Linked DNA regions of Homo sapiens: regions 2 and 3 are each linked to region 1. The links are contacts of gene promoters, found by promoter capture Hi-C in blood cells and fetal thymus (Javierre and others, 2016). All regions are on one chromosome and are shown on one strand. The core of a region is centred on a gene start or on the middle of the fragment in contact, and the rest is flanking DNA. Distances in the headings are between cores, read along the strand shown.

Evidence for each region. Contacts are between HindIII fragments. The CHiCAGO score rates a contact against its expected background, and 5 or more counts as called.
Region 2: a fragment that was not itself captured here is called in contact with the fragment with the promoter of BRICD5 in region 1 in 7 of 17 cell types (erythroblasts, endothelial precursors, fetal thymus and 4 more); the score reaches 6.7 in erythroblasts.
Region 3: the fragment with the promoter of ZNF598 here is called in contact with the fragment with the promoter of BRICD5 in region 1 in 5 of 17 cell types (erythroblasts, M0 macrophages, M1 macrophages and 2 more); the score reaches 11.4 in erythroblasts.

Annotation. Positions count from the first base shown.
Region 1 is chr16:2,208,955-2,212,112 of GRCh38, forward strand. It overlaps BRICD5 (BRICHOS domain containing 5), which reads right to left and starts at 1,909. Exons shown (of 6, transcript NM_182563.4): 1 at 1,829-1,909; 2 at 1,568-1,696; 3 at 1,172-1,327; 4 at 996-1,097; 5 at 599-752; 6 at 299-502. The coding sequence starts at 1,879. The coding sequence ends at 408. It overlaps PGP (phosphoglycolate phosphatase), which reads right to left. Exons shown (of 2, transcript NM_001042371.3): 2 at 2,639-3,158. It overlaps MLST8 (MTOR associated protein MLST8), which reads left to right. Exons shown (of 9, transcript NM_022372.6): 9 at 1-499. RefSeq lists a silencer at 1,164-1,354 and an enhancer at 2,794-3,158. The HindIII fragment of the contact is 35,834 bases long and covers 1-3,158 here.
Region 2 is chr16:2,456,510-2,459,925 of GRCh38, forward strand. CCNF (cyclin F) reads left to right here. Exons shown (of 17, transcript NM_001761.3): 17 at 36-2,345. The coding sequence ends at 511. LOC105371050 (a long non-coding RNA gene) reads right to left here. Exons shown (of 5, transcript NR_188689.1): 1 at 3,405-3,416; 2 at 3,204-3,327; 3 at 2,301-2,445; 4 at 325-457; 5 at 1-76. Among named protein-coding and RNA genes, the nearest start is that of TEDC2, 1.9 kb to the right of the region's middle. RefSeq lists enhancers at 2,074-2,888, 3,119-3,208. The HindIII fragment of the contact is 2,703 bases long and covers 805-3,416 here.
Region 3 is chr16:2,008,062-2,011,477 of GRCh38, forward strand. ZNF598 (zinc finger protein 598, E3 ubiquitin ligase) reads right to left here and starts at 1,760. Exons shown (of 14, transcript NM_178167.5): 1 at 1,677-1,760; 2 at 1,564-1,675; 3 at 1,463-1,562. The coding sequence starts at 1,686. It overlaps LOC124903626 (a long non-coding RNA gene), which reads left to right and starts at 1,824. Exons shown (of 2, transcript XR_007064941.1): 1 at 1,824-2,041; 2 at 2,247-2,527. RefSeq lists silencers at 1,059-1,128, 1,139-1,568, 1,659-1,878 and enhancers at 1,486-2,434, 1,959-2,118. The HindIII fragment of the contact is 28,758 bases long and covers 1-3,416 here.

The sequences.
Region 1 (3,158 bases), core at 659-3,158:
CCTCCCCTGCCGGCCTGCGCCAGCTGGACCTGATGGCCCCCTGTGGCGCCTTGACCTGCTGGGCCAGGCTGCCCTGGGACTCTCAGCCCCCAGTTGCTTATCCAGATGTGACAGAGCTCGACCCAAGCCAGGCTGCACACTCCTGGACTGGGCTAGCCTGCACTGCCTGGGAAAGTCGGCCGAGGGCCCAAAGCTGCTGAGGGGTCTGAGGCTGGTGCCCACCCCCAAGCTAGTGTGTTCTCTGCCCCTCCCTGCCCGCGTTTCAGGGCCTCGGTCCATAGAGAACACCACCACCATGGCCAGGTGGAAGGGTTTATTAGTCCCTGCCAGCAGCTGTCCTCCCTGGTGCAGGTGGCCTGGCCAGCCCACTGGATTGGGGACGGGCCAGGCTGGGCCAGGTCGGGGGCTCAGTCTGGGAGGTAATAAAAGCAGACCGACACGCAGATGTTGCTCGGGAAGCAGATGTCGATGCAGAGATAAATCAGCCGCTGTCTCCGGGGCCCTGTGGCGAGGGTGCCGTGAATCTCCAAGGGCTCCGCCCCCAGCTCCTCAAACCATCCCGAGGGCCTGGCCTTCCCCCACAGCGGTCCTGACTCACCCTCTGCTCGCCGGGCCCAGTAGATGGGGGTCCTCATGCACAGGCGCTGCACCAAAGCCCCCGCCTGGGCGGGGTCCACTTCGAGGCTCCCCTGCACTGCCAGCAGCTCCTGGGTGTGGTGGGTGTCCTGGCTGGGGACCCAAGCCTCTTGGACCTGTTGAGAAGGCTCTGGTGGGCGGTGGGACAGGGCTGCTCCCTGCTCCTGGCTTGGCAGGGCCGGGTACCCTCCAACCCCCAGTGATGTCCCCACCCTCAGCTCTTGTCAGCAGCCTGGGCTTAGGGCGGAGAGAGCTTCCTGTTCCCTGAAACCACAGCTCCAGCCTGTCCCGTACTGGGCTGCACACAGGACCCTTTGTCTAGCCCCTGGCCCGGGCCTGCGCCCAGCAGGACGGCTCACCTTGGAGGTATCCACCAGCAGCCGCAGGGTCTCCCGATCACTGTCCTCCATCAGGCGGAGGAAGCAGACCTGGTGCTCCTCAGGGCGGTAACAGATGCAGCCCTGGGGAGGCAGGGGGGTGAGGCGGGGCCCCCCAGACCGACACCTGCCAGGGTGACCCCTCCCTGCCCACTCACGCTCTGCCCGTCGAACAGCACCGCCCAGCTGTGGTTGCTCTGAGGTGGGGTCACTGTGATGGTCGCCGCGTTCCGGGCCACGTCCACCAGGATGGTTTGGTTGGGCCGGGGCATGTGGGGGCTCGGGAGGGTCATTCGCAGCGTCTGCAGCCTTGGCTGGCAGTGGGAGTTGGAGTTCAGCCGGGCAGCTGTGCAACCCCAGCACAGCCTCCAGCTCTGGGCTGCAGGACTCCTGACACCCCTGAGTGGGCCCTTCCACCCCTTGGTCCTCTGGCTGTCTGCTCCTAGGTGGTGTCACTGCCTGCTCCGCACCCTTGCTCTGCTGGAGGCTGGGATATGCCAGCTTCCCTTCTCCCTTTCCACTGTCCATGTCCCTGGTGCTGAGGAGGGGCTCACCTTGGGAGGGCCCTGAGCAGAGCCAAGAAGCCCTCCAGCCACAACCCCCACAGCGGCCAGCACCAGCAGCAGCAGCAGCAGGAGCAGGCTCACGGCTCTCCAGCCCCCGCAGGAGGGCTTGGTCTTCACCTGGGCGTGCATCAGGGTCAGAAGGGTCATGAGGGTTAGACATCAGGGAGCAAGTGGGCTGGGGAAGGGAGGGGCTGGGTGGCCTGGGGCACCCCCTGGGTCCTTGCTGCAGGAGTAACGGGAGGCACTCACCCCTGTAGGCCCAGGTTTGGGGCGCTCAGCACAGCAGCTTGCTGGTTCCATCCTGCAGCCCCTGCTCACAATGTGCCGATTGTCTGCGTCCCTTGTCTGCAGCCTTGGCCAGGGGAAACTCAGAACAGAACCCCTCCCCTCCTGACCCTGCGCCTCCCCCTCAGCTCTGGATCTGATATCCAGGTCAGAGCCAGGACAGCCCCTCCTCCCACCTGGGGGATGCCTGTCACCAGGCCCGGCTCCAGACACCTGGCCTGTGCAGACTGGAGCTCAGGGTCTGGGAGGCGTAGGGCTCGGCCGCGTGGAAATCCAGTCCGGCTGACCGACTGGAGGGCAGCCCAGGCCCGGCCAGGGTGACTCGCTAAGTGTGGTTGGGGTGGATTTCGTTTTCCTAAAGTGGCCTGAGTCTGTCAGGTTATCCTTGACTCCCAGAGTTGGGCACAGGGCCTGACACGCCACAAGCTGTCAATACGTGCCTGTTCAGTGAATGACAGGTGTGGGACTGTGCACCCCCAGCCACTTCCCAGCCCCCGCACACCCAAGACCGGGGGTTCCTGAAGCCTGGACCACAGACAGGCAGCCTGCTGGAGCCTGTGCCCCTGGGACAGTCAGGCCAGCCTCGGGGGCCCGCCTAGCCCAACTTTTTTTTTTTTGAGACGGAGTCTCGCTGTGTCCCCCAGGCTGGAGTGCAGTGGCGTGATCTCAGCTCACTGCAACCTCTGCCTCCCGGGTTCACACAATTCTCATGCCTCAGCCTCCCTAGTAGCTGGGATTACAGATACATGCCACCAAGTCCCGCTAATTTTTGTATTTTTAGTAGAGATGGGTTTTCACCATTTTGGCCAGGCTGGTCTTGAACTCCTGATCTCAAGTAATCCACCTGCCTCAGCCTTCCAAAGCGTTGGGATTACGGGTGTGAGCCACTGCGCCCGGGCCAGCATTACTTCTGAGCTCTGCTCCCTGCCCTGGGCGCTCTGACACGGCAGCCCACCAGCTTCACTCCAGGGCCCTTTGCTTCCCTGGCTTCCCTTTGTGCCTGGCTTTCCCTCATTCTTCAAAACATCTTCCTCTGAACCAGGCTGGGAGTGGGCAGTTGGCATTCCAGCTCTGGAGTTGGAACCCCAGTTACCCATCTACTTTGAGTCCTCCCACCCGTGGTGAGACGGCATCACCCGGGCCAATGCAAGGTGAGAGCAAGGACACCTGAGCCAGTGTGGGTTTGAGAGTTTAATCTGTGCTCTGGCGCCCACAGTGCTGCAGCCCCTCATGGGCCAGAGACAGGATGCACGGGGACTCCCAGCCCCTACCCGGCAAGAGAGGCATCACTGAG
Region 2 (3,416 bases), core at 906-3,405, 250 kb after region 1:
TGACATGACTTCCCTCCCCACCAACCTTCCTGCAGTGACAGCTCCCAGCGGCATCCTCGATGTCACCGTGGTCTACCTGAACCCAGAACAGCATTGCTGCCAGGAATCCAGTGATGAGGAGGCTTGTCCAGAGGACAAGGGACCCCAGGACCCACAGGCACTGGCGCTGGACACCCAGATCCCTGCAACCCCTGGACCCAAACCCCTGGTCCGCACCAGCCGGGAGCCAGGGAAGGACGTCACGACCTCAGGGTACTCCTCCGTCAGCACCGCAAGTCCCACAAGCTCCGTGGACGGTGGCTTGGGGGCCCTGCCCCAACCTACCTCAGTGCTGTCCCTGGACAGTGACTCGCACACACAGCCCTGCCACCATCAGGCCAGGAAGTCATGTTTACAGTGTCGTCCCCCAAGTCCCCCGGAGAGCAGTGTTCCCCAGCAACAGGTGAAGCGGATAAACCTATGCATACACAGTGAGGAGGAGGACATGAACCTGGGCCTTGTGAGGCTGTAAGTGTGTCAGCACATTTGCCGCAGTGGATGTGTACTGAGGGGGCTGGAGGCGAAGGGTGGGAGCATAGCATAGGAACGCTGCATAGACCATGGAGGCCTTTGCGCAGAGAGCAGAGAGGATGACTTGCGGCCACCAAGTTTCTGTCTCCGCGGGAGTCCCGTGCAAGCCATCAGAATGTTGAAATGAGGGTGAAGAGCTCAGATCCCTCTCTTTGGAAAGTTTAGCCTGGAAGCAGTTGGCCACACTGTGTGGAGGGCACCTCTCTGTCCCTTCCGTGTCTCACTGTCTCTGGAAGCTTCAGCCCATGTGTGTCCTGGTGTTCCCAGCCCCACCAGAGCCCCGTGCCGGGAGCTGACAGCTTTCACGCTTAAGGCACGTGTGACCTGGGTAGTCAGACACCACTTGAGCCCCTGCCCACATCTGCTGGTTTGGGGCTTCAGTGGGGAGCTGACAGCTGTGAGCACACCACTGTCCCCTCATCCACCTCGGCCTGCATGGGGCACCCACTTCCTTCTGGGTGGGGCTTCCATGGTAAGGGGGCCTGCGTCCCTGCACACTGCGAGGACTGCCTTGGCCACAGGCCCACTCCCTACGACACGTGACTCGTTTTAGAGCTCTGTCCCAGAGGCGTTCGTATGTGACCCACAGATGGCGTCAATGTGAACACCTCTCTTTGTGCTGAATTTCTGGGCCATTCTTTTCCTGTCTTATTTCTAAATTTCCTTCTTCCAAGATGAAAACAAAAGAAAAACTTAAAACAGAAGGTATTAAAAAAACAAGAGATTCCCACCATTATTTAGGTTCACCTGCAAAACAAAAATCTTACTCCAGCCCCTCAATGCCATCCTGACACACTTTATGCAAAAAGAATTTTCCCAGATAGGCTAGCCAGAAAAAACTTCAAGTCCTCTGTAACATCTGAGGTGACCAAGAGGCAGAAGAGCAGAGCAGTCGGGGGCCGTGTCCTGGCTGATCCCAACTGCAGCTCTGCTGTGGGGGCCCGTGGGAGGGAGGCAGACCCCTGGGCTTTCCTGCTGGCCACGGAGACTCTGCTCCTGCATGGAAAGGGAGCCTGGGAGCCAGCAGCCCACGCCTGGGGAGCCTGCCTGGGGCCATGTGACCATGGCCTCTCCCTGGGAACGGGCTGACCACAACACACCCTGCTGCCATCCACTTCTGTTTACTCTGCAAATGTAAGAAAGAACCACTTGGCCAGAAGTGTCCCCCAGATGCTTTTTTTTTTTTTTTTTTGGAGACAGTTTTGCTCTTGTCTCCCCGGCTGGAGTGCAGTGGCATGATCTCAACTCTCAACTCACTGTAACCTCCGCCTCCCGGATACTCCTGCCTCAGCCTCCTGGGTAGCTGGGATTACAAGCACCCAACCACGCCCAGCTAATTTTTGTATTTTCGGTAGAGACGGGATTTCACCATGTTGGCCAGGCTAGTCTCGAACTCATGACCTCAAGTGATCCGCCCACTTCGGTCTCCCAAAGTGCTGGGATTACAGGCATGAGCCACGGCGCCTGGCCCCCAAATGCTCTTGAACCGGAAACCCAGGGATGGGAGATGCTCACTGAGCTGCTGCTTTTATGTGTGCTGGTGCTATGTGTGTTCATGTCCGCGGCAGCTGTCTTTTTGCTACTATAAGGGAATTCTGGCCACCCTGGGTGGGGTGTGGTCGGGGTGAGAACCCAAGCGTTGGAACTGTAGACCCGTCCTGTCGACTGTGTGCCCCTGGGCATGTGTGAGCCTCAGTTTCCTCATCTGTAAGGGGGGCAATGATACCTACCTCACAGGGGTGTTGTGAGGATTAAATGTGAGGAGGATAGTGGCAGATGAGTGATGGACGTCCTTCACTGCCTCGGCCCCTTGTCCAGGGGCTCTTAATCCCAACTCTGCATGGAGTCAGTTCTCTGCTTTCTCCCAGCTTGCACCTGAAGGAGGAAACCACTCCAGGGGGACCTGGCCCCGCCTGCCTGTGGTGGGTGGGTTCCTGCATCACCCACCTGCTGACTGAGCATTTCCCTGCCTCCTCCTTCACAGAGAATCTCCAGGGAGGCAGGGCCACCGTCACCCTCCCCCACCGCTGATGGAGGGGCCCACCCGGAGCGCTGGGCCAGAGCTGCCTGGGTCCCAACCTCCCTGACAACTCCCTTTGTGCCCTCCTTCCCCTCTGCGATGGCACCTTCCCATTAACGACTATGGAATGGACTCACCTGTCCCATCTTTAAACAGCAACCCCAGGCTCTGTTTTTCTTTCAGCTACCGCCTGGGATTTCTTGCCCCCTAATTGTTTATTCTTGTTAACACCAACTACATGGGGCCCTGCTGCCTTCCTCACTTCCTCCCTCAGGTGTCCCCCGCATCACCGAAGGCCCTGTACCCCCGCCCCCCTGCTGTGCTGTGTACACCGCCGAGGCCTCAGCAGCACTTGGCCTGTGACCCACTCCCTCCCGTGACAGCCTCCTGTTGCCTCTGTGACACTGTCCTACTGCTCCTCCACCTCCCTGGCCATTGCGTGGGCCCCGTGATCTGTCCCTACCCGTCCCCTGCCCCACCAGGGGCCACCTCGCCTGGCCCACTGCTCCAAGGTCTGAGCTTCCTCCCCTCTGCCCAGTGCTATCACGTCACATGTCCAAAAGTGAACACTTTCTCCTCCTTCATCCCCGCCCCTGACACGCGGAATCCTCACCTCCAGCAACCCCGTCCTGTCCCTGTGCTCGGTGGCCCAGGCGTCAGCAAGACGGCTGGTCCCTGCGTTAAGAGCACTTTCAATAAGGACAGATGGAGCCTCTCGTATAACCTTCACCGGCCCCCTGCAAGAGAAGCGCGATAATGGCGCCCCCATCTACCCAGTTACCCAAACCAAAATCCCGGCGTCGCCCGCAGTCACCTCCCTGGCGGC
Region 3 (3,416 bases), core at 510-3,009, 200 kb before region 1:
GGGGCACCCAGTGCCAAACCACACCCCGGCTGACAGCTCATGTCCGCAGCCCCCAGCCACAGAGCTCCTGGAGGGCGTGGGGCCTACAAGGAATGAGAGCGGGCAGAGGCTGCCACAGTAAGCATACGCAGATGTTCACTCATGTCTTGCATCAGACCTGCAGCCTGGGTCGGGACCTCACGTGCCAAGAACTCCTTAGCGTCTTCTTTCCGGAAGGAAGCTACAGGTGTGCTGGGAAACCTAGCTGTTGGAGAGTGAGGTCATGCTATGCAGGACTGGCTGGCAAGGCAGGCCCTGGCAAAGCCAGGAAGCGCCCTGAGGAAGCCACGGGCCAAGGTCCTCTGTGACTGTTCCTGCACCCCAGATCTCCCCGGGGTCTGGGTCGGCCTCCTCCTGTCACATGACAGACTGATAGAATCTCCAAATGTCTTTTTCCAAAAAGGGCACAGACTATAAGCCCACAAATTGCTCAGAGAATTGCAGCATCTCTTCAACTCCTTTGATGTAAACGTCTACTTAAAGAAAGAAAAGGAAAAAAAGAAAGAACCTACACCTCAATACTGCTCTGCATCACTTCTGGGGAGAAGAAAGTTAGATTCCTGGCAGATGTCACCAGCCGAAGCCTTCTATGAACAAACCGGGGGAATTTCACAATGCTGGAAGCAAACAAATCTCTAAGCTCAGCAAACCAACGGGCTCCAGCCAGGTGCCCACAGCCAGCAGCTGGCAGTGCAGTGAGGGTGGAGGAACGCTGCATGGTACCCTCTGACCCCTCCACGGCTTCCAAGTCTGTACAGTCAAAAACGTCTCCCATTCACTGCGGAGATGAGCGCCAAAGGCGGGGGGCGGCGGCGAGGAGGAGGACAACTTCCTAACACTTTTCTCCCTTCCCGCCAAGAAGCGCGAGGGGGCCTTCCCCTCCGACGGGCAGGTCTCCTTCCGAGGCTAGTGTCACCTCCACTCCACAGAGGAAAACGTCAGTCTCGGAAGGAGTTTGCTCAGGGTCATCCAATGGGGGCCCAGAAACACAGCTGGGCTGAGAATGCCCAGAGTTTGACGCCCTGCTTCCAGGACGGATGGCCTCCGCAGAGTCCCCCTTGCCTTGTTTCCTCGAATGGAGGACCCTGGAAAATAAACTCCTGAAGACGAGCAGGTCACCGAGTTCTCCATCTGATCAGGACCCTTCCTGAGGCCCGGCAGGAACCCCCGGGACACGGGGGAAGTCCCCAGGCTGTCCCCACAGGGCTTGCCCCCTCCTGCAACCCGCTCGGCCGCCTCCGGCCTCCAAGCCCCAACGCCCCGCCGTCAGCCGCACGGCCGGGACCCCGCCCTGGGTGGCCCCACCAGGCCTCTCTCGGAAGCCGGCGCCGCCGGGCCCACGGCCGGACCTCAGTGAGGCAAAGTCCCCATCCGGTCGCCGGGAGCCCCGCTGCCCCCGGGCCGCGCCCCCGGCGCCCCGCACCTGGCGCAGCTCCTCGCGGCACACGGCGCAGTAGCGCTGCTCGCAGAGCACCCGCATCTTGGTAGAGCAGCGGTAGCACACCGGGTGGTCGCAGCGGCCCCAGCGCCGTGGCCTCCAGGTCTCCGCAGCACAGCACGCAGCTCCCGCCTCCCCGCTCAGGAGCTGCCGCCGCCTCCGCCTCCATGTCCGCGCGCCGCCCCTCGGCGCCCCCCGGCCGCCGCCATGGTCCGGGATCCGGCCCCCCTCTCGGCCGGTCGTGGCGCCGAGCGGCCTGGCTCCCGGCGGGCCCGCCCCTTCCGGGCAAACGTCACCGCCCCACCCAGCAACGGGCCCGCCCGGCGCAAGTGCGCGTCGCGACTTCCGCCTCAGCGCGGCGCCGGCTAGAGCGGTGGCCCTGATAGAGGCCGCTCTACCATGAGCCGACCGCTCGAAGGTCCGCGCGGCCACGCGGCCAGCCCCGGGCTCCTCTGGGCCACGCGTGTCACGTCAACACTCGCCGGGCTCCACGAACTGGCGTTGTCAGATGAAACACGGCACAACTGGTTTGCATCTCAGATGAACAAGGGGTCATGTCTTAGTGTAAGTATAGCCCAAATATTGATGGGCTAGGCTCATACTAAAATGCTGCTCCTTATCTGAAATTGACATTTAAGTGGACCTGCCGTATTTGTATTTGCTAAATCTGGCCACCTTATTAGGAAACCGGTCTCTGGTATTTGGAACACACACAAGCGTGGTCCCGCCTCCACTTCCCTAATGCCCTGTTTAAATCCCTACATGAAAGACAACGTGAAAGGCAGCACGTGGTGACGTCCATCTCGCAGCCCAGGGCAGTCTCGCCAGGCCTGCCCAGAAGGGGCCTCTGGAAGGCACGAACGGAACCTGTCCTCTTTACGCTGGGCCCAGCACAGGACGTGTTTGGATGGATGCTGCAGTAACAGGGCCTCCTCCCTACCCTTGAGGGCCAGGCACACTCAGGACCTCCCTCCCTCTGCCATCCAGAAGGCAGGTCCAGATCTAAACCCTACTGGAAAAGAGGCAGTAAATTGTATCAATGAGCCTGAACTTTACTTACTTTATTTGAGACCGGGTCTTGCTCTTGCTGTAACACAGTGGTACGATCACAGCACACTGAGGCCTCAACCTCCTGGGCTCAAGTGATCCATGCCCAGTGAACTTGGACTTTAGAAACAGACACAAATGGGCTTGAAACCCCAATTTTGCCACTTGAAAAAAGCTGTCAGGCACAGTGGCTCAAGCCTGTAATCCCAGCAGTTTGGGAGGCTGGGTGGCCCGGATTGCTGGAGCCTGGGAATTTGAGACCAGCCTGGCCTACACAGTCAGGCTCCATCTCCACAAAAAAAATTTTTAGGCCGGGCGTGGTGGCTCACGCCTGTAATCCCAGCACTTTGGGAGGTTGGGATCACCTGAGGTCAGGAATTGGAGACAAGCCTGACCAAAATGGTGAAACCCCATCTCTACTAAAAATACAAAAATTAGCCGGGCGTGGTGACATGTGCCTGTAGTCCCAGCTACTCGGCAGCCTGAGGCAGTAGAATCTCTTGAAACCGTGAGGCAGAGGTTGCAGTGAGCCGAGATCACGACAATCACGCCACTGCACTCCAGCCTTGGCAACAGAGCGAGACTCCATCTCAAAAAAAAAAAAAAAAACACACACGACTAGAGTGCAGTGGCGTGATCTCGGCTCACTGCAAGCTCCGCCTCCCGGGTTCACGCCATTCTCCTGCCTCAGCCTCCTGAGTAGCTGGGACTACAGGCACCCGCCACCACGCCCTGCTAATTTTTTTTTTTTATTTTTAGTAGAGACAGGATTTCACCATGTTCGCCAGGATGGTCTCGATCTCCTGACCTCTTGATCCACCTGCCTTGGCCTCCCAAAGTGCTGGGATTACAGGCATGAGCCACTGTGCCTGGCCAAAACACACAAAAATTA